Regions from separate parts of the Homo sapiens genome. Here all the other regions are linked to region 1. Evidence: promoter capture Hi-C in 16 types of primary human blood cells and fetal thymus (Javierre and others, 2016). All regions are on one chromosome and are shown on one strand. Each heading gives the region's core, a stretch centred on a gene start or on the middle of the fragment in contact. The rest is flanking DNA. Distances are from core to core; before and after follow the strand shown. Region 1 holds the start of LRRFIP1 (LRR binding FLII interacting protein 1). Region 2 overlaps PER2 (period circadian regulator 2). Region 3 holds the start of ASB1 (ankyrin repeat and SOCS box containing 1). Region 4 overlaps PER2 (period circadian regulator 2). Region 5 holds the start of ILKAP (ILK associated serine/threonine phosphatase).

Evidence for each region. The method cuts DNA at HindIII sites, captures the fragments that hold promoters and counts their contacts. A CHiCAGO score of 5 or more calls a contact.
Region 2: a fragment that was not itself captured here is called in contact with the fragment with the promoter of LRRFIP1 in region 1 in 1 of 17 cell types (naive B cells); the score reaches 5.3 in naive B cells.
Region 3: the fragment with the promoter of ASB1 here is called in contact with the fragment with the promoter of LRRFIP1 in region 1 in 5 of 17 cell types (activated CD4 T cells, total CD4 T cells, naive CD8 T cells and 2 more); the score reaches 8.6 in activated CD4 T cells.
Region 4: a fragment that was not itself captured here is called in contact with the fragment with the promoter of LRRFIP1 in region 1 in 1 of 17 cell types (naive B cells); the score reaches 6.9 in naive B cells.
Region 5: the fragment with the promoter of ILKAP here is called in contact with the fragment with the promoter of LRRFIP1 in region 1 in 5 of 17 cell types (total B cells, naive CD4 T cells, non-activated CD4 T cells and 2 more); the score reaches 8.3 in total B cells.

What each region holds. Positions count from the first base shown.
Region 1 is chr2:237,624,653-237,629,966 of GRCh38, forward strand. LRRFIP1 (LRR binding FLII interacting protein 1) reads left to right here and starts at 2,935. Exons shown (of 24, transcript NM_001137550.2): 1 at 2,935-3,088. The coding sequence starts at 2,993. The HindIII fragment of the contact is 5,154 bases long and covers 1-3,920 here.
Region 2 is chr2:238,242,769-238,247,843 of GRCh38, forward strand. PER2 (period circadian regulator 2) reads right to left here. Exons shown (of 23, transcript NM_022817.3): 23 at 1,276-3,756. The coding sequence ends at 3,607. Among named protein-coding and RNA genes, the nearest start is that of HES6, 5.3 kb to the left of the region's middle. RefSeq lists an enhancer at 3,380-4,579. The HindIII fragment of the contact is 6,913 bases long and covers 1-5,075 here.
Region 3 is chr2:238,423,136-238,428,312 of GRCh38, forward strand. It overlaps ASB1 (ankyrin repeat and SOCS box containing 1), which reads left to right and starts at 3,792. Exons shown (of 5, transcript NM_001040445.3): 1 at 3,792-3,984. The coding sequence starts at 3,936. It overlaps LOC124908002 (a long non-coding RNA gene), which reads right to left and starts at 3,759. Exons shown (of 2, transcript XR_007088163.1): 1 at 1-3,759. RefSeq lists enhancers at 2,373-2,908, 4,421-4,540 and silencers at 3,241-3,630, 3,651-4,170. The HindIII fragment of the contact is 6,850 bases long and covers 1-5,177 here.
Region 4 is chr2:238,280,297-238,285,490 of GRCh38, forward strand. All of the region lies in intron 1 of PER2 (period circadian regulator 2), which reads right to left. Among named protein-coding and RNA genes, the nearest start is that of PER2, 5.7 kb to the right of the region's middle. RefSeq lists enhancers at 1,960-2,460, 3,308-3,807. The HindIII fragment of the contact is 3,450 bases long and covers 1,037-4,486 here.
Region 5 is chr2:238,200,284-238,205,959 of GRCh38, forward strand. It overlaps ILKAP (ILK associated serine/threonine phosphatase), which reads right to left and starts at 3,412. Exons shown (of 12, transcript NM_030768.3): 1 at 3,216-3,412. The coding sequence starts at 3,270. RefSeq lists enhancers at 2,399-2,458, 3,421-4,293 and silencers at 2,829-2,918, 3,039-3,608. The HindIII fragment of the contact is 5,343 bases long and covers 1-4,280 here.

The DNA of each region.
Region 1 (5,314 bases), core at 1,685-4,184:
GGCCGACGGTCAAGGGTGGAGGAAAAGCCACAATTTTTCGGTGAACCCATGGATCAGCATGATGGAGTCTTGCAGGTCTTTATCTTCCTCCAGGAGGCACCCCAAGCACGGAGAAGACCCACCAAGCTGCCTGATACCTCTGTCTAGCTCCCCTCTGCCCAGACAGGAACTGCTGTTCACCATTCATTCCAGACCTGGGCCTTTGAGGACAGGAGCTGTAAGGATGATTGATCGATTGCCTGTGTGTGAAGCCCTGGAAGGGCTCTTGCCTAGAATACTGTCCCTACCCTGACAAGGTAGAGGCCATGGTCTGGATGGCGGTGGCCCCCCCATTCATATGTCAAAACCTAACCCTCAATGCAAGGTGGGGCCTGCAGGTGACCAGGTCCTGAAGCAGAGACCTCATGAACGCGATGAGTGCCCTTACACAAAAGCCTGGAGGGAGCCCGTCTTCCACCATGAGATGACACACAGAAGGCACCATCTGTGAGGAATGGGCCTCAACCAGACACTGATTCTGCTGGAGGCTTGATGCTGGACTTCCCAGCCTCCACAGCTGTGAACAATACATTTCCGTGGTTTTATAAATGACCCTGTCTAAGGCGTTCTGTTACAGCAGCACAAAGGAACTAAGACAGTGGGCACCCGTATTTCCATTTAGAGGCGGAAACTGACTCTGAAGTGAGAACCGGTCCACTCTGAGAGCACATCGCCAGGGGAAGAGGACTGTAGCCAGGAAGTTGTTATGTCATGGGGTCATGGGAGGACCCAGCAATGTTGTTTCTGATGATTTCTGAAAGGCGGCTCTTTTCTGGAAGTGGACAGATGATGGGGGAGGGGCAGGAAGCTGAATTCACCACAGTGTCCGAGAACACTGTCTACCAGCGGGAGCTGTTCAGACACACCTCTGGCCAGTCCCCACGGCAGTGAATCTCCTGTCTCTGGACAACAATCCAACAGGGAAAGTGGGGAGGAGGGTTGGGAACTGAACTCTGTTCCACAAGTTCAACCACTGCACTCCACTAAGCAACTGGCACAGCCAGTCCCTGGTGAAGGCTTAAAGATGAGGAAGATGGGGTCAGCGCCTGCCCTCCTGGCCTCAACACATCAGGATGGAGGATTTAGGTGTTAGCAAAAAGTGGCTCAAAGTTCCAATGAAGGACAGGGAGCAAAGGGAGACTTCTTTTAGAAAGGAGACGTTGGAACTTGGATATGGCTTTAGTTAAGGAGCTCCAGGCATCTCAAGTCAGCCCTGAGAGGCAGCAGCCGTGTCTGCCTCTCGGACAGCTATGCCCCAGCCTCCAGCTCAGCAGCTGGCAGGCAGCAGGTGTGGGTGCAGGAATGAGTGAACTCATGGGGACCAGCCTCGGCAAAGACGCACAGTCCCCACAGTGCCCCAGGGGCTGGGAAACAGTGAGCAGCCACCAGCAAGACCAAGGCAGTGCAAGTGGCCACGGCTCAAGGTTTCCCCCAAGGAGGACTATGTCACTTAAGGAGTATGGCCTCTGAAGTAATGTAAATATGGCCTGGAAGATTCAGTCAACACCTATTTCCTTAGTGCCTACAATGTGCAGGTGCAGTTTCTGCTCCCGGAGTTCAGTCATGAACAATGCCACAGTCAGCCCTGCCAACCCACCTGCGTCAGCTCAGGCACCCAGAGCAATGTCACCTGGATCTGCCCTCCCTCCCATGTCACTGGACTCGCTGTCTTTTCCCTGCAATGAAACCTCCAACAGCTTTCCCTGCCACTGTGGGTGGAAGGGCCCTCTTCCTCTTCCCACCTTCATACAGCTTCCAGGCCACCTCCTTAAGAATCCAAAGCAATCTGGTCACACCACTTGGTGGGAAATACACCGAAATGTTAACTGTCCTTATCACTGGGGGAAAAAAATCACAGGTGACTTCAGTACAGCCTCCTCTCCTCTACCATCACTACCCTCCCTCCCATCCTTCCCCAGGTCCAGCCACACTGAAGTTCTCCCCATACCCCAAACACACCAGTAACTTTCCCACCCGGTGCTCCTGCCGTGCCCTAGGCAGGGGCTTTTAACCCCTACCTAATCCTCCGATTTGCTTTACTTTTAAATCCACCTCTGGAGCATAGACTGTGAGCTTCAGAGAGCACAGGTAAGTTCATTACTTTTTCAACAACTAGGAGAGAGCTGCGACGCACCTGCCCCGATCCTAGAGGCTGGGGACCCACCAGAGAAGTGACAAGTCCTTGATCTCAGGGGGCAGACAGCGGGGAGAAGGATGGATGCTAGCACGGAGAACACGCGTGTAAAGACAGAAACGCACACATCCACACCATGCCGCTGTGAAGCCGGCGCCCAGGAGGCTGGCCAAGGTCACAGGAGCGGCGGTGGCGGGCGGATCCGAGCACCTCTCGGCCTGACCCCAGAGCCTAGCTCTCACCCCGGCGAGGGACTTCCACCCCGACTCACCGCGGAATGGGGAGCGCCAGGCTGAACCAAATCCTGTGCTCACCCCTCCGTGCAAACCCCTCAAGGCAACTCAGGCCTCTGAAAGCCTTCCTACCCCCCCGCTCTCCGCTCAGGTCCCCACTCAACCGGTGCCCACCGCCCTGGCGCGCGTCGCTCCGCGATTACCGGCCCGCCAAACAGTCCCCGCAAAGTCCACCCTCCGGGGCTCCCGGTCCCTCAGGTCCCGCGTGCCCGGCCCTGGGCATCCGCAGCGTCCCCGTGGTATCGGACCCCCATCGTCCCTGACACCTGGCGTCTCCGCCCCCCGCCCCCGTCCCCCGCCCCGCCGTCCCTGGCCCCTGCAGTCCCTGGCCCGCGCTGCGGACCTCCGGCTCTGGCTTCCCCCGGGTCCCCGCGGCCCCCGTCCCCCCGCGTCCCCGCGTCCCCGGCCCAGCGCCCGCTGACGCCATGACGCCGCGGCGGAGGGAGGGGCCGGGGCCGGGGCCGGGCCGGGGCGGCGCGAGCGGCTGGAGCAACGGGCCCCGCGGCAGCTGCGGGCGACGCGGTCGATGGACATGGGCACCCAGGGATCGGGGCGCAAGCGGCTCCCCAACCGGGAGCGGCTCACGGCGGAGGACGACGCGCTCAACCAGATCGCGCGGGAGGTGAGCGCTCCGGGAGGGCAGCCGGGGGGCGCCGGGCGGGCGCGGGGGCCGGACGGCTGTCAGGGTCTCTCCGGCGTCCGTCTGTCCCGCTGTGCGTCTGTGCCACTGCGCGTCCGGCTCCAGGCGGGTGGGCCGGGCAGGCGCGCGCCGGGGCGCTGATCCCCAGGCGCTGCGCCCCGGCCCCGATCTCCGAGGCCTGCGGACCCCGCACCCGTTCTCCAGCCCCGGGCCCAGCCCGCGACGCTGCGCGCCCTCCCCCACCCCGGCCACCGTCGGCCGCTGCGCCCTCGGGAGAGGAGCCGGGCGCCGCCAGCGCGCGAGGTGGCCCGGGCTGGCCGGGTGGGGGCGAGCGCCCCGCTTTGTTGTGCGGCATGGGAGGAGGCGGGGGCTTAGGCCCGACCTGGAGGCAGTGGACGGTCGCCGGAGGCCACATGGCCCTGCTGAAATGGCCGAGTCGCTCAGGTGACCATTTGTCATCCATCCATCGATGTCACTCAAGGTGCAGCTCAGAGATGAACTTGGGGATCACTGTGATTTTTCTTTCAGGACTGAGCCTGGAAACGGGTCCAGGCACACTGAAACGTCTTCATTAAAGTTTCCTGGACAGAGTTTATTGTAACTAAGATCATGTTTGGTGATGAACTTTACCTGTGACAAATTGAAGGCGCACTAGAATGGGTATTTGTACAAATGCCTTTTTTTTTTTCCTTCCGCAAGGATTCTACCTTAAGGCTAAAGAATGTACATGACATCCAGAAAGCCGTACAGGGACAGAGAGCAGCAGCTTGGGAAAAGGGGAGCCAATAGGTTGCGGCCCCAGGGGGACAAAGGAAGCTTAATTTTTGACTGTGTTCCCTTTGTACCATTTGAACTGTGTGCCAGGTGGGTGTATGAATGCAAAGAAAGTCTCTGCCTTGTAACCCGCCTTACAGGTTCTTTTCCGTGTTGGCTTTTCCACATGTGATTCTTCCCACAGGAAACACCTCCAAGCCATTTGGACTGTGGTGTCTGGCTGTATCCGTCAGATATTCTGGGGGATCTACTCTGTAACCAATCCTTAGGTGTTTGTAGTTGTAAATACCTGATTTTGCTCTTACGGACATGTGGCAGTCACTCAGTATTTGTTGACTACTGAGTGAATAAAGACTTCTGTTTTTCTCTGTATGATACAGAAAAGGGCTTTCCAGGCAAACCCTTATTCATTCCTGGAAGCCCACTGTGACCTCCAGGAGACCTTCCAGACTCAGCCCTCTCACATCGCACCAGGCCTAAGTCTCCCTGGCTCCACGGCCCTCCATGGCATGCCCGCGCCTGGCATGGCAGTCAGGATACCTTATCATTATTTGTCCACCTGTAGAAGGTGACACCCAGACAGGAAATATCTTACTTTTGTATCCCAAGAGCTCAGCACAGAGCCAGGCACATACTAGGTGTTTGTCTATGTCTGTTACATTAATTAATAAACAAAAGAAGTACAAGGCATTTAAAGGACCTTTGGCTAAATATAGACATTTGCTAAATATAGTAGCTTGAGTATAACTCCCTCCTGTGAAGACAGTCACTTATGTATGCATTTGACCACAGTGCCTTACAAGTGTTCCCTGCAAGGGCCAGAGGTGGCCAGTGAATCGCAAGCCTTGTCTTGATGTCAGTGGTTATGGGGCAGAAGAATGAGAAGAATGAAAATTTCCAGAGTTTGCCTTTTATCCACTGGTGTTTCTTTCTTCTTTTTTTTTTTTTTTTTTTTTTTTAACACAGTCTCACTCTGTTGCCCAGGCTGGAGTACAGTGGTATGATCTCGGCTCACTGCAACCTCCACCTCCCAGGCTCAAGAGATCCTCCTGCCTCAGCCTCACCAGTAGCTGGGATTACAGGCACGCACCACCACACCCGGCTAATTTTTGTATTTTTAATAGAGACGGGGTTTCACCGTGTTGGCCAGGCTGGTCTCAAACTCCTGGCCTCAAGTGATCTTCCCGCCTTGGCCTCTCAAAGTGCTGGGATTACAGGCGTAAGCCACTGCGCCCAGCCTATCTGCTGGTTTTTATAAAATAGATTGAAAAGGAAGGCAAGGGAACACTCCTTGGGTTGAGAGCCCTGAGGTCCTCCCTCCCACCGAGGGAGATGCAGTTGGAGTTACAGAGATAGACTTGTGAGTCAGAGCTGGGCTTTCAAATGACATAGTTCTTAGCCAGCTGTGCCATCCTAGGAAGGTGAGTTACTCAC
Region 2 (5,075 bases), core at 1,764-4,263, 620 kb after region 1:
CCCTTTAGCGGTGCACTGGCCAGCTGGCATGGCCTTTTTGTCCCAGAAGCCTGGCCTATCTTGAGGTCACCAAGCCCTCCCTCCCTCCTTCACAGCAGCCTCCCCTAGCCAACACTTCCTGCCATTTGTCCCTTGGGCCAGTCCTGCCTTCAAAGTTTGCCTGAGTATGGACTTCCTGAGCATTTGAGTCCTTTGATCCCCCTAGAGCCAGGAACAGAGGCCAGCAGAGGCTGGGCAGGGTGGTGGTTGCTGCGGGGATACCAGTTAGCAGTGGGGGTGGCAGGCCATAAATCCCTGGGGGAACAAAGGCAGCTGCGGCCTGTAGACTGTCCAGGCCCCTTGTGGGCAATCTGCCCAGGAGACTCAGAGAATCTCCGTTTGGTTTGGAAATAAATCCCTTGGGGTTATATGGTAAATAAAAATACAATTAAGAGTCTTCCAAAAGCACTCAGGTTCAGTGAAACAACCATATCTGGCCATTTAGAGCAGTTTGCAGAGGCCTCTGTGCTCGCTAGGGAGGACTTTGCCTTTTATCCCATCAGCACTTGGCGTTAGGCAGCCAGGCTAGCAGGCAGAGGAGAGCCCCTCCCTTCTGCTCAGGGAGCTTCTCAGAGGCTGGGCATTGGGTTCAGGATCCATTCAGCTCTCTGCTCCCACCCCCAGGGTCATGGTTTGAAGAGTGGGAGGGATGGGGAGCAACTCTTCGGGCTTCCACAGTTTTGGCCTCACAAGGCTTCATTCATCACTGTGAAAGAAGGGCTGGGGTCAGGGGACTATGCCGCCCTGCCCATATCATTCGCAATGGAGACATGTGACCTTCCTGGTGGAGCCTCCTGACCGCCCCACCTTTAGCCCTACCTAGCCCGATGACCAGAAGACAGGCAGCCAGCCTGGAAAGGCCAGGTAACCCAGGGCAGGGATGCAGGGAAGACAGAGGTGCGTGGAGGCAGAGCTGGGGGCACTCTGGGGCTGAGCCAGACAGCTGCACCCCTCCAACTAAAAGTGAAAAGACTGTGGGGCATGACACGATTAGGTTTGCATTACGTGAGTTCACTCCTGCAGCCTGAAGGAGGGTGTGTGTGTGACACGCACAGGAAGAAAGGGAGCCAGCAAGAAGCAAACGCTATAAGGGAGCTGACCGCCAGGAGGCCTTTGGGATGTAAGATTCTTTAATGCAGAATTCCTGGAGTTCTTTAAAAAAATTTTTTTTAAATAATCTTTGCTCTCTATTCAGGTTTTCCTTTGTGCTATGTGAAAAATACATACAAGTAAAAATAAAAATATACTTGCTTTATTTACCAATTTTCTAAAAGGCAAACAGGTCATAAAAAGACACAAGCAGTCAAACAAATCTATTGCACTGGGTAAAGAAAGTTTGGTTTGCACACAAACAAACCACTTGTCCAGCAAGGCTCAACAAATCATCACAGAAACTCTGAGAGCTTATTTACATATCTCTTCGGGAATATATTAAAAAGAAGGCTCAGTTTAAAATAGAGAAAAACTGTTTAACACCTGTGTAAGCACACACACTAAAGAAAACATGACTTGATGCTTGGCATCACGTAAACAAATTCACAAGATGATCCTATTAAGTCAACTGCTTGGCACGCGCTGAAGCTACAGTTAACAATCAGTGAGCACATATTAAATGATAAAATAATGCTGATGGTAAACATTCATAACAGCAGAGTAAGATTTTGGCAGTTTTGTGTTTCGGTAACATAACTGTAACCTTAGATGAACACCTATCCCTTCATGATCTGACTTTAGAGGCAAGGAGTTTGTAACATCTAATGGCCATAAGAATGCAGACTGCTACCTTATCATAGGCATAGGCAGCTGATGTTACTTTGTAAATTAACGAAAAATTAAAGTGTTCTTGTGTTTATGAAGAATAGGTTTAATAGTCAGGCATAAGATGGTTTTACGATGAAAACCTAGTGGATTACAAAGAGATTTCACCTCCATCAAAAAACAGAAAACCCTGGTCCCAGTTGGGCGTGGTGGCTCACGCCTGTAATCCCAGCACTTTGGGAGGCCGAGGTGGGTGGATCGCTTGAGGTCAGGAGTTCGAGACCAGCCTGGCCAACATGGTGAAACCCTGTCTCTACTAAAAATACAAAAAATTAGCTGGGTGTGGTGGCAGTCGCCTGTGGTCCCAGCTACTCAGGAGGCTGAGGCAGGAGAATCGCTTGAACCTGGGAGGCAGAGGTTGCAGTGAGCCAAGATGGCGCCACTGCACTCCAGCCTGGGCAAAAAGAAACTCCATCTAAAAAAAAAAAAAAAAAAAAAAAAAAAAGAAAACCCTGGTCCCTTTTAAGCCTCATAGTCTTGGTCCAATTTTAAGTCAACTGTTCTTCAGTGATAACTTTGAATTTCCACCAGGGACCAATATTAAATTTTCTGAACCATCTTTGGAATATACAATGCAACATGAGGTTTTGTAAAAAGCCGGGCAGACTGGCCTCACTTTTCCCCAAGTGTCCAAATGACCTAAAAGTGCTGGGGACACTGGCAGAGGCCTGAAGCTGCTCCGAGAGAGGTCGGGCTCATGAAAAGAATGAGGGCTGTGCACCCAACCCAGGGTGCAGTGGGAGAGGTGAGCTCACTGCACCCCTGAAAATACAGATGCAGTCGCAAGCTGTCAGACTGAGTGGCAGTGGCTGCTCTCGGCCAGGAGATGTGATGTGGGCTTGGCTGGGTGGAAGCAGATGTCTGGGTGGTTCCAACGGAAGAAAACCAAACAGGACTGGGTCTCACATGTGTTGGTCACAGCCTGGTTTGCAAAGGGAAGTCACCATAAAGAGATGACTGATGACATATTTTAATCTCCATATTGGCCATCATGGTCTGAAAAGGAGACAAGAATAATGCAGAAATATACAGAGGGTCTGTCTGCGTGTGCATTCATCCGATGGAGTTGGCCACACAAACCACTAGGCTTCTTTAGTCCAGAGCAAATGTTTCAACTTTGTTCACTACAAACAAAACCTATGTCAGACTGAAATATTGACCACACCAGAAGCCAAAGCTGTTGGTTTGCCAAACAACGCTTCACACCATTTAATGTGAAACGTTTTGAAATAAAACTAGGAGAGGCTGCTATCTCCATTTGGTATGTATAAAAAAACACTCTACCTTGACTAAATGATAATTCAGATAAAAAGCAGTCCCCAAGAGAGGACAAAATTTGATCTGATCCAAACACCCTGGGAAAGCTCTGGAAGCCAGAGTCCCCAGCTGGTGCAGCAGACAGAGGTCTCGTCACAGTCACAGGACTTCTGGGAGCACTGAGGCAACTTCCCTGACACTAAGAGGCGCTTAGTCTTTCTCAAGTTAAATAACAACTAAAATCTCTTCCCCATCCCACAAAACTCCACATATATATTTTATATATAAAAACATATTTCTTTCCGAACTCTCCCCACTCTCCACAGTTTTAAGTCGCCCCTTCAGAAAACTATGTTGTTTTTTTTTCTAAAACAAAAAAAGCAACATGAGCATATGTGTCCATTTCAGTGGAAACAGCCATGAAGATCTTTCATCTCTTCCAAGCACCACCTGGTGTACCTCGCTGGCTGCCGGGCTGAGGTGGGGCAGGGGTTACGTCTGCTCTTCGATCCTGTGATTCAAGGGGGATCCATTTTCGTCTTCTTTGGTGTCCGACACTTCGCTGAGTCCCAGAGAAGGAATATCTTCCTCATATGGTATGCAAATATTACCTTTTTCCTTGTTTTCACAGTAAACACATTCCTTAAAAGAAAAAAAAAGAGAAATCAGTAACAAACTTGAGATCTGAGTTGTTACAAAAGTCATTCAAATTGGCCGGGCGCGGTGGCTCACGCCTGTAATCCCAGCACTTTGGGAGGCCGAGGCGGGCAGATCACGACGTCAGGAGATCGAGACCTTCCTGGCTAACACGGTGAAATCCCATCTCTACTAATAATACAAAAAATTAGCTGGGCGTGGTGGCAGGCACCTGTAGTCCCAGCTACTTGGGAGGCTGAGGCAGAAGAATCGCTTGAACCCTGGAGGCAGAGCTTGCAGTGAGCGGAGATCACGCTACTGTGCTCCAGCCTGGGCGACAGAGTGAGACTCTGTCTCAAAAGATAAAAAGTCATTCAAACTGAGTAAGGTGCAGGTGACCAGGTGTCAGCCAGGAGGTGGCTGGCAGCAAAGGCCAAAATCCCTGTCCCAGGAGCTGGCACTCTAGTAGCAGAGAGAGACAATAACTAAGAAGGGCTCCAGAGGCATAGGGTATATAGAGGACATCTGTGATTTTCAACTGGACATTCACAGCAGGCCAAAGAAAAGGTGACGCAATGATTTTGAAACGTGTCCACACTCTTTGCCACTCCTTCCTCAAAAGGTGGGGCCTAATTCCTTTCTCCTTAAACCTTGGCTGGACTTAGGCATTTGCCTCTAACAAAGAGTACCTGACTTCTGATTCTAGGTCCTAAAAGGCACCTTGGCTTCCTCTTTTCCTCTCTGGGGAAGTCACCTGCTACACTGTGAGGACATCCAGGCAGCCCTACGGAGAGGTCCCCATGGCAAGGAGCTGAGGCCTCTGCCAAGAGCCAGCAGTGTGTGAGAGGCCTGCAAGTGAGGCTCCTGGAAGCCGGTCCTCCAGCTGGCAGGTGACAGAAGCCCCCACCAGTATCTTACCGTCAACATCAGGAACGACCCTGAGCTAGAAGTACCCAGCTAAGCCGCTCTCAAATTCCTGACCCAAAGAGACCGTGCAAGGTAATACAAGTTCATTGTTGAAGTCACTAAGCGTTGGGGCCATCTGCCATGCAGCAGCAGATTACTAATGCAGCAGCGGGTGGAAAACAGACTCTAAGGCAGCCAGGGTGAGCCACGGGTCTATTTCAGGAAAAAGGATTCCAAGCAAAGGGCTGGGCATGTGCGAAGATCCTGTGGCAGGGGCCTGCCAGGGCAGTCGGGGAAACAGCCAAGGGGCCAGTGTAGCTGGAGAGGAGGGAAGGAGAGGAAAAATGGGAGATGAGGTAGAAGATGTGGATAGGTGGTCAGATGTGTATGGCTTTGCAACCATTTATTCTGATTGAGGT
Region 3 (5,177 bases), core at 2,542-5,041, 800 kb after region 1:
GCAGGCCCTGGTAGAGGATGCAGGGGCTCACTGAGCGCTGTGGCCTCCTGACACTAGTGGAGTTCTCGGTCACACCAAGGGAGGCAGCACAGCACCTGTGAGGGGGGCTGAAAGAGGGCACCCCCTTGGCAGGACTCCCAGGGCCCACACTGTCCTCTGCAGTCCCCACAGCTGGGCTTCCCGGTCCTCCCTGGGACCTCCACTGCCAGGCTAAACCACATCCAGGCAGAGGCCGACCTGGCTGGAAGAGGGAGGCTTCGAGGGCTGCAAGGAACATCACGGCCTGGGCCCTGCCCAGCCCCACCAGCCCCAAGCTGAGGGCCTGCTGGGACACTGCGTCTACCCCTGAGCCCTGCTCTGTTCCAAGCTGGGCAGAGAAGGTGGGCTCAGTTTAGGACAGGGTGGGGTGGGGTGGGAGGCTGGAGGTGGGCGTGGCTCCACTCAGCAAAGCCATGCCATAGCGTTAGCAGCCATGGCACCGATGCCCACTGTGTCCTGAGGCTCTCTCTGCCCCAGGAAGCCTGTGGCACATTCTATGGGATTTTGTGTCTTTACAAAGCCTGCAAAGTGGGTATTATCAGCCCGATTTGACAGGGAGGCAGCTGGTGCTCAGAGGAGTCACCCTGTCCTGGTGACTCAGCTGGAAGGATGTGGATCTGCCTCCCTAGCTTGGGGCAGACACCCTGACTCTCTGCAGGTGGGCTCCAAGGCCTGAGACAGGGTCTGCGGGGCAGGGGCTGGTAAAGATGTTTCCAGGGCAAAGCCTGGAGGGTCAGCGGGCTGCCCTCATCTCGTGGCCTCACCTGGTAAACCTTCAGATCCCCTGCTTCCTTCAAAGCAGGAGATCCTTCAAAGGGGAAGAGAGGGCTGGGCCTCCTGGGAGGAGACACCCCAAACACAGGCCCACAGGGCCTAGGATCAGGAGAGATTCCCATTTCTGGTCCCTGCCTGGGTGACATCTGCTGCCCAATTCCCGGAGACAGCTGTGGGGGTTAAGCGACAGCAGCACCAGCACACCCAGGCCCAGCAGGATCCTCACCAGCCTGCAGCTGTGGAGCTCATGTTTCCAGCCCCCCATATACCTGCCATGCTTCCAGAGGGGCCCCCAGTTCCCTGCAACAGGAAGGATGAGGGATGGGGGCCCCTTCTCAGACCTCCTGAACCAGAAAGTCCATTGTTGGACATTTTTGTTATAAAATGATGGTAATGAGCACTACTGTAGCTGAATCTCCCCCACATCTGATTATTTCCCTAGAATGAATGCCTGGAAGAGGCATTTCTGATCAAGGATTATTCATTCTTATGCTTTAGCTAGACTGCCAAATTTTCCACCACAAAGACTGGGCTAGGCTCCACAGAGGGGTCACTGGGGACACTTTGGGGGAGGCCTGAGCCTCCAGGAGGCAACAGGAAGCGACGGGTGATTTTAGGGGTGGGAAAACGGGAGGGAGCCACTGGGACCTGGAGGGGCAAGACAGCCCACTGCACTGGTCCTGTTGCTGCTGTGCTGGGCTGGGATGGCACTGGTAGGCACTGGTAAATCCCTGTTGCTTGTAGGTGATGGGACCCAAGTTGCTTCATCTCTAGCGGTCACTGAGTGTCCCTGTGTTGGTGGGTCTTTTGGGCTCAGAGGACCTGGAAGAAGAGGGACTCTGGAGAGGTGAGGTCAGAGGGGGAGACAGGCTGTAGGGCTGGACAGTCTGGATGTGATCCCAACTCAGCCACCTGTGGGCTATGTGGTTTTGGGCATAGCACCAGGCCCCCAGATCTCAGGGTCCTGAGAAATGGGGGTGATGGTATTGGCAGAGTGGCCAGCAATTGAGTGTCCTTCCCCCTCCAGCACTGCTGGCTCTGTGGACACTGCCCTGCACCATGTGGGCATTTAGGAGGCACGGAGGTGGGCATGTGAGGCCACCTCCCCGCTACAGACCACGTGCGGCCTCAGGTTCTTCTAAGAGGCAGGATCCCAAGGGCAACACGTGGCAGGGAAGGTGGAGGTGCAGGTGCAGGAGGGCCACTCTGCTCAGGGACTCAATACCTTGATGCAAAGGCTACCGACACGCAGAACGCTCACTGTGAGCCCACCGGGACCAGGCAGGCAGAGCAGCGGAGGCCCCCGGAGACGTGGCTCTCACCAGGCTGCACTTTAGAATCACCTGGGTGCTCTGAACCACCCAACACCCAACCCGCACCCCTGACTGACTGCACCGGAACCTCTTTTAAAAAATTCTTTAAAACAATTGTGGTAAAATATATAGAACATAAAACTTAACCTGCTTTAAATGCGCAGTTCAGTACTGTTAATGCACAATTCACATTGCTGTGTGACCCGTCTCCAAAACTTTTTCATCTTCCTCAACTGAAGCTCTGTCCCCATGAAAAACTAACTCCTCATTCCCCACTCCCCCAGCCCTTGGCAACCCCCATTCCGCTCCACCATTTCACTGCTCCAGGGACCTCAAATAATTGGAATCACACAGTACTGTATTTGTCTTTTTGTGGCTGGCTTATCTCACTCAGCATAACGTCTTCAAGGTCATCCGTGTTGTGACGTGTGTCAGGATTCCCTTCCTTTCTAAGGCTGAGTACGAATCCATTGTATGGACGGACAGCATTTCCTTTCTAAGGCTGAGTACGATTCCATTGTATGGATGGACGGCATTTCGTTTATCCATTCATCCATCCAACAACACGTGAGGCGGCTTCAGGCTTCGGAGTTGCTGAAGCTCCGAGTTCGGGATGTGCAGCTGTGGTGGAGCCAGGGGCTGGGCACACCCCTGGCTCCTGGCCTGGCAGCGTCATCATCGGAGTCACCTGTCCCTCATGCCAGTGGTGCTCTCTGCTGTCATCAAGACCAAACACCACTGTAGGAAGTACCCCCACTCCCGCCTCCAACCCCCACAGGGCCTGCCAGGTCTGCCCCCAGTGGGCCCCCTGGTGCATCTGGGCCACCCAGGGCCAGCCTCAGCAGGGGCACTCGCGGGGCTGCGCCTGCGGCTTCCCTTACTCCAGTCTGGAATGTTGTACACACGGATGAGCCAGCAGCTCACGCCCACGACTGCTGGGGTCTCCGGACTCCCTCATCAGCCTCCTGCTGTGCTGTGTACAAATCCTCCTCCTGCATGAGGCCCCGCTGTCTAACTCAGCAGGGGAGAATGGGAGGAGCCAAGGGAATCCGTGCTTTAGGACCAACACCAATACTCATGGTGGGACGACGCTGCGATATTTGAAGTTGGGAGTGTGCAAGAAATGTTACTCGGTTGTTCACGAATGCATTCATTTATTCAATGAACTTCGCGTCAGCCACTGGCTGTCATCAGTTACCGACCTGATTGAGGGCTTCATGGAAGGGATTTGGAGGAGCATTCATCTAAAACCACAGCACGCTGCGACGCTCAGCCCTGCAGTGGGCCCTCACCAGTCCCCGCGCCTCCGAATCCACCCTCCCGGGGCTGCTCGTGGCTAGCGGGGGGCACCTGCGGGGACCAAGCCAGCCCGGCCGAGGCCCGGGTCCCGCCCGCCACGGCCCTCGGGGCCCCGCCCACATCTGGCAGAAGCCACGCCCCGTCCGTGTGGGTGGGGACGGCCCGCCGGACCGAAATTCCCAGACTGCTGCCTCAGGCAACGGGCTTTCCGACTCCTTGGCTTCTTATGTGAGGAAACCACAGCGCGGCCGGCATCCAGAGAGTCGGTTAGCCGCGAAGTTCCCGCCGGACGAAGGGACCAGCCAGCGCCCTGCTAGACAGCGAGGCCGGAAGCGGAGGCGTGGCCCCTGCGCGGCCCCGGAAACCAGTGAGGCCGGCGCGCGCCCGCCGGAAGCCGCGACCCCGACGCGCCCCCCATTGCCCTCGGCGCCGGAAGTGGTCGCGGGTCGTTCTGCTTCCTGCCCGAGGGGCGTGCGCGGGTCAGGGGCGGCCGCGGAGGCGGAAGCATCCATGGCGGAGGGCGGCAGCCCAGACGGGCGGGCAGGGCCGGGCTCCGCAGGTAACGTGCGCGCGGCCACTGGGCCGCGGGGCGTGTGGGGATGGCGAAGGGCTGGCTCCGGCGTCCCTGCCGAGGTCCTGCGTCCTCGTCCCGGGCTGGCCGGGTCCACGGGGCAGCCAGGGAGCCGCACCCTGCAGGCCGGGGGTGGGGTTCAGCGCGGCTCGCAGTGCTGGGCGACCCCACCACGGACGCGCTGCCCTCTCCTCGGCCTCGAGTGCAGTCCCCGCGCTAGATTTTCTTTCCGGTGGAACTTGCTCGTAACTTCCTTCCCGTTAGCCGATACAGATTTGATATGACCCAACCGCAAAAGTAGGACGTGGGCCACCTTCCAGCTCTGAGCGCACGGATCAGGAAAGCCAGCCAGAGGGTAGCCCTAGGGAGGGCAGGCACTTTTTCACCATTCTGCCGCCCACGGCGTGTCCGGTGGTACAGCGGGGGGCAGCCTTCCCACCCACCACAGGCACAGACCAGGGACAACGGGGACGCCGTCTCCAGCGAGCTCGTCAGTGACACAACATGTCCAGGGGCCTTTGGCCCACCAGCAAGGGAGGCAGATAGAAAGGCTCACACCCACCTTCCAAAATAACTGTCCTACTTAGGGTCTCCACCTTGCAGTGTCCCTACCATGCAGATGTGAAGGAAGCGGTCAGGACAGGTTCCCGTTTCCCGGTGGTGTGGTGGGAGTTCCTTCTTGCTGGATTTCTGAGCTTGCCATTCGCGCCAATAGTTTCGTGTGTTCTGGGCTTTCTTTACATGCCTATATTTGTCTTTGGAGGGGTTCCTCTCCTACTTAGTAATAAACCAATACATTTCTTAAACATCTTAAAAGATTGACTTGGAGACTGGTGCAGATAGGCTTTTCCATCCATCCCTCCCTCTGCACCTCCTTCCAATCATTTAACAGACTTGTATTGAAGACCTGCTGTTGGCTAGACCCAGCAGAGGATACTGCAGTGACCAGAAAAAGCCAGACAAAGCATCTACCATCCTGGGCTTTGGTTGGCGTTGACTTTGACTTCAGAGACAGCCAGGACCTTAGGGTCTAGGATGTCATCTCATGTGAGAGTGAGAGACGGAATGATGCGTGTTCCGTGGGAAAAAGAGGACCAACAGCTACTTCCCAGTATAAAGAGAGTTCCTGGGGAATAAACACTGGCTTTGTCGGCTGCACAGGTCTCCTTTTTTTTTGAGAC
Region 4 (5,194 bases), core at 1,512-4,011, 660 kb after region 1:
GGGGCTCATGGAGAATCCACCCACATCAGTGTCTGGAGAACAGCAGGGCCGACTAGACCTCGCCTTGTTCACAAACTAATAAACAGAAGAAAGCCAACACGGGGCTGTGGAAAACACACACAGCAAAGACAACTGAACACAACCCTCATGCCACAGAGGAAGCAGCAAATTAAGACACCATCTACTTTTCATCCTAAGAATTCAAGAAATGATGGATTCAATGAAACAAGTAATGAGGGATGAGATAAGGCCACTGACTGAGATGAAAATGCCACATTAGAATGGAAAACTAGAAAGGACAAAGTTCAGAATCAATAAAAAGAAAATGGCTTCAGTGATAGGAGATGCGTGACAGACTTTTAAAATGCAAAGGGAAAGGAGAAGAGAAGAGAGATGGAGGACAGCCGGGTTTTACCTGTGGATTACAGCTCTTTCTGAAAGAGACGAGAACAATAAAACAGAAACCATAATGAGCGAGACACATAAAGAGAACCATCCTGAACCAGAGACAGATCTGAATCTGCCAATCAAAGGACAAGAGTCCAACGCCTAAGTGCATCCAGATGACAAACGGTATCTTCAAGGATAAAGAAAGTCCTACCAACATCCACAGAGAACAAACAAGTTACCCATAAAGGATGAAAAAAAAATCACACTAGTCTTGGATATCTCTTCAGCAATATTACATTTCCAGAAGACAATGTTTACACTTTTTTTTTTTTTTTTGAGAGGGAGTCTTGCTCTGTCACCAGGCTGGAGTGCAGTGGCGCAATCTCGGCTCATGGCAACCTCCGCCTCCTGGGTTCAAGCAATTCTCCTGCCTCAGCCTCCCAAGTAGCTGGGATTACAGGTGTCCGCCACCACGCCCAGCTAATTTTTGTATTTTTAGTAGAGATGGGGTTTCACCATGCTGGCCAGGATGGTCTTGATCTCTTGACCTCGTGATCTGCCCACCTCGGCCTCCCAAAGTGCTGGGATTACAGGCGTGAGCCACCAGGCCCGGCCGTCTACATATATTAATAGCTTTGAGAGGAAAAGCTTATGGTCAAAGGGAGGAAATCTCAATTACAGGATACTTGATTGTGGGTTACATAGCTGGTTTTATCAACATCCTGAGTCACATAAAACCCAAAATGCCAGCATCATTCCCCTTAAAGTCAGGAACAAAATAAGCAAATCTGTTATTCTAGTCTTTTTTCTTTATTTTACATTTAATGGCAGTTCTAGCAAATTCAATGAAAGATGAATGGTAATACCTTTTGGGAACAGAGAGACTAAGCAAGAAGACTGCCTAGGCCATTCCCACAAAGAGAGACACCAAAAGATTTGTGAACTTGTAGAAAGAGGCTCAACCTCATTAGCATCAGGAAAATGCAAAGGACGAGGTTATCTTGCCCATCAGGTTGCCAAAAATTAACAGGACTGATCACACTCAGCGTTGCTCAGGTGGAGAAGAGTGGCTCTTGTGTGTGGTGGTGTAGTAATAGGGTATTTCTGGAGAGAAATTTGAGTTCCCAGCAACATTTATAATCTGCATACTCTTCCCACCTCCAGGAATCCATTGCAGAGAAGTGCTTATTTATGTGCTCAGAGATGTGTGAGCACTGAATATAAAAACCTGGGAAGAACCATCAACAGGGAGGCTACGCATCCTGTCCACGATCATCCTGGCCAGGAGCCAGCCTCCAATTCCAGACTGGTCCCCTGCCTCCACCTGGCCCTGCTATGGTTAACACAGCATCTAGAGCGATCCTGGTGAAGGGGCTTAGCTTACGCCCGGCCCGTGCTCAGACCCTTGCTCAGAGCACAATTCTAGTGTGCACAAGGGCCAAAGGCTCTGCAAGTCTAGCTCCTGCAATCTCCTGGGCATGTCCTGTTAACTGCCCACCCCTCAGCCCCAGCCCTGTGTGCTCTGACCACAGAGACTCTGCACTTGCTGCTCCCTCGTGCCCACAGCCCTCTTCTTGCAGATGCCTGGGCAGCCTGCATGAACAGCACCGTCTCCCCACCAGCTCCTTCTCTGTGCCTCCACCGCCGCTCTGTGGGCTTTCCTCGCCAGCACTGAGGGGCTGGGCTGTTTACTGCCTGCCTCCCCTCTGGGACCTAAGCTCCATGGGGGCAGGGGTTTGCGTTGGTCAATGCTGGATCCCCAGGGCCTGGCACGTACTGTTGAAGACACAAACCTGGGACATCCATACTATGAATACTATACACCCACTAAAAGGATAGAGGCCAGAAAGACTGATGTGGGGAGAGTCTCAGACATAGATGAACAAGTCCAAGAACAATAAATAACAACAACAATAAAAAGGACAGATGGCACTCAGGCAGGGCCTGCCCGGTGCCAGCAGTTTCCCACTGACTGACTTGCCCTTATTCGCTTAGCACTGAGGGCTGGCACTGGGGCAGACAACAGAGCAGACATCTTTCCTGCCCTCAGGGAGCTTACATTAGGGGGAAACAGACAATAAACAAGAAACTAGAATATACAGTAGAGTAGGCAACTAGCAAGTGGGAATTGAGGGGCTGGGAGTGACATTTCAATGAGGGTGGCCCCAGGTGTAGGTGGCATTTGACAAGGACCTTGCGCACGAGCCCTCGTGTGTGAACTGACTCAGGGTCCCTGGGCTTCGCTCTCTCAGGCTTGCAGCCACGTGCTTCAGCAGGTCTTTCTGGCTTCACACCTGAGGCTGGCACTGGGCATCTCTGGCTCTGCCTGCCCTGTGTGGACTCGGATGACGTGCCACACCACTGTGGGGGCCCTTGCTGCTCCTCACTGTCCTGCCTGCTGCCAAAGGGTCTGATGAGGCAGCTGGATAGGAGGGAGAGCTCGCTTGCTGGACAGGAGGCAAGGAGGAGCTGGCAGAAAATGCCCCCTCCCTCTCTCCCTCAAATGGACCTTTCTGAAGTTGTCTTTCTTTCCTTCCTTCCTGTTTTGGCACAGCCTTTCTGAAGAGGTCCCAAGGGGGTGAGCACCCAGCTGGATGTCTCTGTAAGGCAGAGCCTCATCTCAGCAGGGTGTCGTCTTGTGTGTGCTTTCCAGACTTTTCTTCCTTACCTCCCTTTTCCTTTTCTACTGCTACCCTGGGACTGCAATTCCCAGTAAAGTGCTCACCTCAGACTCCATTCTCAAGAGAGCCTGAAGGCAGACCTGAAGAGAGTGGAGAGTGAGCTACCAGAGGAAGAACATTCTAGGCAGGGGGACAGCACACACAAAGGCCCTGCGGCAGGCAAGCACCTGACCTGTCTGAGGAAGGTGCACGAGGCTGGAGCAGAGCGGGCAGCGGTAGGAGGGCGGCAGCAAGGCCAGATCACGGAGTGCCTTGCGGGGGCAGTCAGAACTCCGATAGGGAACTGTGGAGAGTTCTGTGCAACAAGATCTCACTTACACTTCAATGGAGTTGCAGGGTTGAGGCAAGGTGGAAGCAAGGAGACCTCTCAGGGTGCTCTTGCCATGGTTCAGTGGAGCTGCCAAGGGGCCGCCCAGGGTACCAAGGGCATTCTCTCACTCCTGACCCCTCAACACCCTGGACACCACCCATCTCATCCCCACAGCCCTCCCCCAGATAAGCAGCTGGTCCTTTCTGCTCTGAGTGAGTCATTAAGGTGATCAGAGGCAGCAGCAGAGTGGTTAAGGGCACAGGTCCTGGGTGGCCTGGGTTTCAGCTGGGTTCCACCACCTCCTATGTGATCTCGGACAAGTTCCTTAACCTCCCTGAGCCTTGTGTCCTCATTTGTGAGATGGGGTAACAGTAGTTCCTGCCTCCTACTGGTTGTTAGAAGGATTAAATGACACAACCCATGCAAGATATCTGGAATGTAATATTAGCTTATCACTGCTAATCACTACAGAAAAACAGACGGCGGCTGGGCGCGGTGGCTCACACCTGTAATCCCAGCATTTTGGGAGGCTGAGGCGGTGGATCACCCGAGGTCAGGAGTTCGCAACCAGCCAGACCAATATGGTGAAACCCGTCTCTACTAAAAATACAAAAATTAGCCAGGCGTCATGGTGTGTGCCTGTAGTCCCAGCTACCTGGGAGGCTGAGACAGGAGAATTGCTTGAACCCAGGAGGTGGAGGCTGCAGTAAGCCAAGATTGCACCACTGCACTCCAACCTGGGCAACAGAGCAAGACTCTATCTCAAAAAAAAAAAAAAAAGAGAGAGAAAACGAAAAAGAAAAACAGATGGGCAACAAACGTAATTTTGGAAGAGAGAGAATGAATTGTCATGGCAGCTGTCTCTGGCTTGTATTCTTATATTTAAAGGACTAAGAACTCAGTGCCACCTCCAGCCCAGGCAGTCCTTAGAGGAGCATCAGGTATCTGAAGCCACCATGCTGTCTGGGCCCCGGGTGCTTTGCACGTAGCTCTCCTGGTTTTCACCCCTAAGTCCATCCCCTGTAAGCCTGTCTAAATACGATTCACTGGTGCCCCGACATTACCTTAGGTGGAAGATAAGTATTTTTGCAAAGAGGGTAGAGTAAGCTTGGCAGAAATGTGAAAGCCAAATTATCAGAAACTTCGTCATTCCAGAAAATGCGTCTCTCAGCCTCAGCGGCTCTAATAGACCAGCCTCATTTTGAGAAGCTGGCAAAACCAACGTCCCTGTCAAAGTGGACTTTGCCTCCTGCCCTCCACAGATGTGTGCCCATAGCCAGCTGGACCAGCTGTTCCTGGGGAGCTCCTAGGAAACCTGTTTCCACCTCAAGGCGGGTAGGGGGAGGGAGGGTGGGCATGCACTTATGTGCTCAGGGTACCAAAGCCCAGGAGGGAAAATGGCAGCCTGGTTGAAAAGGGGCTGCCAAAAGCCAACATGAGCCTCTGGGCGTGAACCTGCCCTTGAGGCCCTCTTTGCATGTCCGCCTACTGGCTCTGCCCCTAAGAACAGTCAGACTCAAAGAAAGAGGTTAAGCTCGGACCCCTGACCAGGTCACCTGGCCACATTTTTGGTAGCTGGGTTGCCTCAACTTGACAGAGCACCATTCAGAAAGTGCAGTCCACCACAAGAACAGAGAGCCTGGGATCAGGAGGAAAAGCAGCTGGTGGGGGTGGGGAAGGAGTGGGGCCAGGAGCAGAGACTACTGGCTGGTGGGGTCGCATGGGTTCGTTACCCTATCCTCCCCACTTTCAGAGATACTCATACTTTCCATAATAGTGTTTAAAAATTAGGAACGAAAGCAAGCCTGGGACC
Region 5 (5,676 bases), core at 2,162-4,661, 580 kb after region 1:
AAACTACTAATTTAGCAAAATACCTGAAATATTTAGTGCATTCTATGTATTTTTCTAGATTATAAACATTTAAGAGGTTTAGGGGTGGGAACATTAGATGCAACGTTTAAAACAAAAATAAAAAGATCTAAACAAAATATTAATACATTTGATGTGATATAAGCAGTGTAGTATTCTCCCTTTGGACACTCAGTGCTTTCCCATAATTCATTTAAGACTGCGTTTTTCCACTTTTAAACAACTGTTAATGGCTCAGCCAGGCACAGTGGCTTACCACTGTAATCCCAGCACTCTGGGAGGGCCAAGGTGGGCAGAACACTTGAGCCCCAGGAGTTCGAGAGCAGCCTGGGCAACATGGCAAAGCCTTGTCTCTACAAAACATACAAAAATTAGCTGGCTGTGGTGGTGCGCACCTGTAGTCCCAGCTACCAAGGAGGCTGAGGTGGAAGAATCACCTGTGCCCACGGAGGTCGAGACTGCAGTGAGCTGTGTTTATGTCACTGCACTCCAGCCTGGGCGACACAATGAGGCTGTCTCAAAAATAATAACCCTGGCTAACATCTATAAAACACTATACATTCTACCCCACACTATGTGCAGCACCATACATACTGTACTAATTTGTACAGTAACAGTGGCAAGTGTCACCCCTTTTTACACATGTAGGAATAGCCACAGAAGGCACAGTTAGTAAGCGAAGAGCTGGATTCTAAACCAAGTAGTCTGGTTACACTTTCTGAACAACTTTTCTTGCGCTCTGGGAAAATAACGAGGTCTTTTATTGTTCACTGCATTAGAGATTTGTGGTACCCACATATCATGTGTGAGGGTCATGATGCACAGTTTAGACTCATTATTCCATTCACTTTAGCAATCAATATGATTTATTCAAAGTATGTTTTTTTTTTTTAAATCACAGTATTTTCACAAGTATGTGAAACCAGATTCTGTTCTTGTACAAACGATTTTAACCTGTCAAATCTCATCTTGTTGGTTGTAGCTAACAGCCTGCAATGATAACTATGGATCCCAATTGTCACTCATTTTAGTACTTATCCCTCTCAGCTTCCAATCATCTACAAATTCTGAGATCTTCTTCGTTTTAAAGCTATTTTTAAAAATACACTCAGCCAAGCAGGACCTGTTGACAATGTCAGTGCCCTCCTGGCAGATGGGGAGCAGCTGACCAATCCAATCTCAGGGTGGTCAGCAGTTTAAACACCATGCACCCCCTCTGCCACCCTTTCAGCTCAGTCAAGGTTGGAAACTGAGTTTGGAAAAAACGGCAACAGGATGTACCTTTCCCACTGTATCTGGCAAAAGGCTGCTAAGGTGCCAACCTATGAGATTCTGAGTTGCCAGGTTTTTTGTCAGTCAAGGGAGCCTGCTCCTGAGCAGAACCTAATTAATTGCAGGTAAAAAGCAATGGAGATTTTAAGACTCATAGGTTTACACGCACACTGGTGAATCCAAATGCTGTCCCAAATATATTCAGATAGAAATTATACTCCATTGACAAGAGAAAAAAGACTGCTACACAAATCCAATTTTTACCCACAGCTAAAACCGTGGTTATTTTGAAAATGAATGGCTGAGTCAAGTTCAAAGACTCCAGGACCAGTTACTGAGATGCTCTGTACCATCAGAACGGTCAGTGGGGGCAGGGCACGGTGGCTCACACCTGTAATCCCAGCAATTTGGGAGGCCGAGGCGGGCGGATCACCTGAGGTCAGGAGTTCAAGACCACCCTACCCAACATGGTGAAACCCCGTCTCTACTAAAAATATAAAAATTAGCCGGGTGTGGTGGTCGGCGCCTGTAATCTCAGCTAGTAGGGAGGCCTAGGCAGGAGAATTGTTTGAACCCGGAGGTTGCAGTGAGCTCAGATCTCACCATTGCACTCCAGCCTGGGCGACAAGAGTGAGACTCCGTCTCAAAAAGTAAAATAAAATAAAATGTTTTCTCGCCCAGAATTACTGCAAATCACAAGCCTGAACATCCTTGGAAGCTCAATTCAAACACTGCCTCCTTCCCCAGTCTCTCGGTGCCCGACAATCCCTCCTCAAGAGTCCTCAGCATTTCCCACAGTCATTAACTTTTGCCAGTTTTAATTACCGTAATTAGTACCCTTCAGAAAGCAGCTCTTAGAAAGCGAAGGCTGGGCCTTACTCACCTCCGTCTACCCTACAACAGCAGCTCCCAAACCACTGGTCTCCAGCCCCCGCTGGGTTGGCCTGGGGATTTAGTAACAGATTCGGAAACCCCACTCTCAGGGATTCGGATTTACTGGGGCTGAGGTGGGCCTGGAAATCTGAACGTCTTAAGTTTTCCAGGTTTTCTGCCCCCAAGTTAAATTTTGTAATAAGGCCCTAAACTACAACATCAAGCTGGAAGTCTTGCATATGAAATATTCACGCGTTTTGACAGATGAAACCCGGAGACTGTAACCCACAGGACGCAGGGATTAACACAGGCCCTGTTTCAAGCTGCTAGGATGCTGAGCTCAAACCACAGCCCACAGGGACTCCCACTGGCAGGGGCCAGCGCTTAGGAGATGAGCGGACCCCTTAACTTCAAGGAGAGGGGGAACTTCCCGTGGACCAGAAAAAAAAAAAAAAAACTACTGTTAATTATCACAAAATCACAGGATGACAGAGGAGGCATCCTGTCTTCCAGGCTTCAAAAACACGAAGGATTAAGATGGTGATTAATTCAATCTCCAGTGCAAATAAAAACGCCAAGCCCCTGAACTTGCACCGGCCCGGAACGCGGCCGTTCCACAGCCCGCGGGTGAAGTGCGGCCCGGAAGCCGCGGGCGGGCGACGCGCAAGGCAGCCCAGGCCGCGGGTGGAATCGGGGCGCGGGGGCCCGCGGTGCCGCCGGGCGTTCAGAGCCGGTCCCTCGGGTCGGCCCACGCGGTCGCGCCGGCGCCTTTCACCGCCACGCAGAGGGGCCGTGGCCACGACGGCTCGGCCCTTTCCTTCCTGCGTAGCGAAAATGGCGGAGCGGCCTCTCCGAGCTCCGCGAGCGACCGGGCCTCCGACAGGGCCGCCAGTGGGCCGGACGGGGCCTGGCCAGGCAGGAGCAGGCCCCGTGCAGCCCGCGCCGCCCGCCGCCTCCCAGCGCGGGCGCCGCCTCAGCCGCCCCGGGCCTCAGGCCGCCCCCATCCCGCCTGCTCTCCCTTCCCTGGCCGGCCCGGCGGCAACGCCGCTTACCGGCAGCCGGGCGCGGCGAGCGCTCGGGCTCCGGCAGGTCCCCGAAGAGGTCCATGGCGGAGGCTGGGTGGAGGCGGCAGCAGCGACAGACACTCAGCCCGCGAGCAGCGGCCGGGCTCCACACCCCGGGCGGGCGGCAGCAGCGGGCGGGCGACGGGCAGGGGCGGCCGGCGCCGTCAGTCACCTGCAGGGAGAGTCCCGGACGCCACCAATCGGCGCGCGGCGTGGCCCGGCCGCCCCAGAGGGCTGCGCGCGGGCTGGGCGGGGCGGCTGGGGGCGGGGCGGTGCGCATGCGCGTGGGCCCCTCCCGCGCCCCGACTGCGAGCCGGGCGGACGGCGCCGTCTGGGCCCCGCGGTGTTTCCCGCCTTGGCGAACCCCGGGCCCCTCCTGCTTTTCCTTGGCTGGGGGTGTCCGATTTCTGTCAAGTTTCGTTGAGTTCCTGTCCAAGAAGCCCTGTCCAGAGAGAAACGTCTGAGCTCAAGGGCAGCCCCTGATGCCTGGGAAGGCTTTCTGGAGCTCTTGCCATCTCTTCGGCTCGTCCTTTCACCACGGCGTGCCTGGTTTCTGGCCTGTTTTAGAGACTGAGAAACCGAGGCTTGGATGGAGCGGCCCTGGGCGTCAGGACGGAAACCTCAAAAGATGCCGGAGGGAAAGGAGGCATTCCCTGACTTGTCTGCACCCACTGGTGTCTGTGGGGAGCGGAGAAGAGGGGCTCCTCCTTAATGGTGTCCCCCTCCATGCCTGTAAAGAGAAAGGCGGCCACTGACATCGGGGAGCTGGCCTGGTTCTGCAGCCAGGACTTGGGGTTGGTCTGGCACAAACAGCTAGGCCTGGGTGTTCTCTTTGAATGTGAACAATTTCATAAAACACCAACATCAGGCCGTGATACAGATCAAGAGAAAAAAACAGACCACTGTGTAATCAAGTGTGAACACAGACAAAACAGGAACACTGTCCAAGCCACAAAAGTGACCACATTCCCCTCGTCTTGGCCAATAAGAGTGATTGCTGCTTCTTTACCATTACATGTTTAGCCTTTGTCTCGTCCTCCTGCCGTCTAGATAAGCTTCATCAAGATATCCAATCATGGAATCCTCCTCTTCCTGACATCCAATCCGGAGCAAAGGCCCGTTTCCATAAATGTTTCCCCAAATCAACTAACACAAACCCAAATCTTACACCTCCGTTCCAACATCGTTTACCCAAGTTCCCCAGGTTATGTGGTCTCCCTCCATGCAAAGAGTTTTCAGCCCAGTTCATTCTGGGGCAGATGTATTTCTGACGCTCTCTGGCTGTAGGACATGGAGGGAGCCCAACAAGGCTTCATGCCTCTCATCTGCGTGGCTTCTCACTAGCAACCGTTTGAGATATTCATGCTGCCTCCTCCATTACAGCAGAAACACTCAAGTAACAATGCTTGTAACCGTTAAAGAAAGAGGAAATAAATACAAAAAGCGGCTCAACATTAAAAGGTTTATTTCAGAGAATAAACCTGAGAGGGGATTCTGGCCAATTTCGATCAGGAGCGCTCTCTCTTACAGACTAAGCATTCTCTCTTACAGACTAAGGATATTTAAGGGTTTTGGAAGTGGGGGAACGTTTATTGCAGGGTTGGAATGTCTCTGGTCGGAGGGGAGGCTATTGGAGGAGAGGTTATTTCAGGGTTAGCATGTTTCTGGTTGAAGAGAGGTTTATCTTAGGGTTGGAATATTTCTGGTTATGCTGACATTAGCCGTTAGGCTGATGTTTTGGGGTAGGATTTAGGTGGTTTTTTAATCAAGGGGAACTTAGAAAGGTGGTGTTTGTCCAAGATGGCAATGCTCCTGCTCTATCAATCCAGTCTCTATAGTTATGAAAAGGACAAGGGGCAGCGCATTTTTTCTGGCTACTTCCTGCTGGGGGAGTGAGCAGAGAGTTCTTTGGTTTCAGATTGATTGTAGGAGTAACGCTGTCTGTAGATGTTTTTGGGTAATTGTCTGTGAGATGGCCATGATCCTGCTGGTTAAAAATCTTTGAAAAAGGTGGCCAGGCGCGGTGGCTCACGCGTGTAATCCCAGCACTTTGGGAGGCCAAGGCGGGTGGGTCACGAGGTCAGGAGATCGAGACCATCCTGGCTAACATGGTGAAACCCCGTCTCTACTAAAAATACAAAAAAAAAAAAAAAATAGCCAGGCATGGTGGCGGGTGCCTGTAGTCCCAGCTACTTGGGAGGCTGAGGCAGGAGAATGGTGTGAACCCAGGAGGCGGAGCTTGCAGTGAGCCGAGATCTCGCCACTGCACTCCAGCCTGGGCGACTGAGCAAGACTCCGTCTCAAAAAAATAAAAAAAACTTAGAAAAAGGTTAATTAAGCAGGGTAAGAACATTATTCCTAGGCATATTTTTAGGAGAGAGCCCAGGAATGGGATGACCCATATTAGGACTTTGTTTTTAAACCAGTAATTTATTTGGTTGTCTTGTTA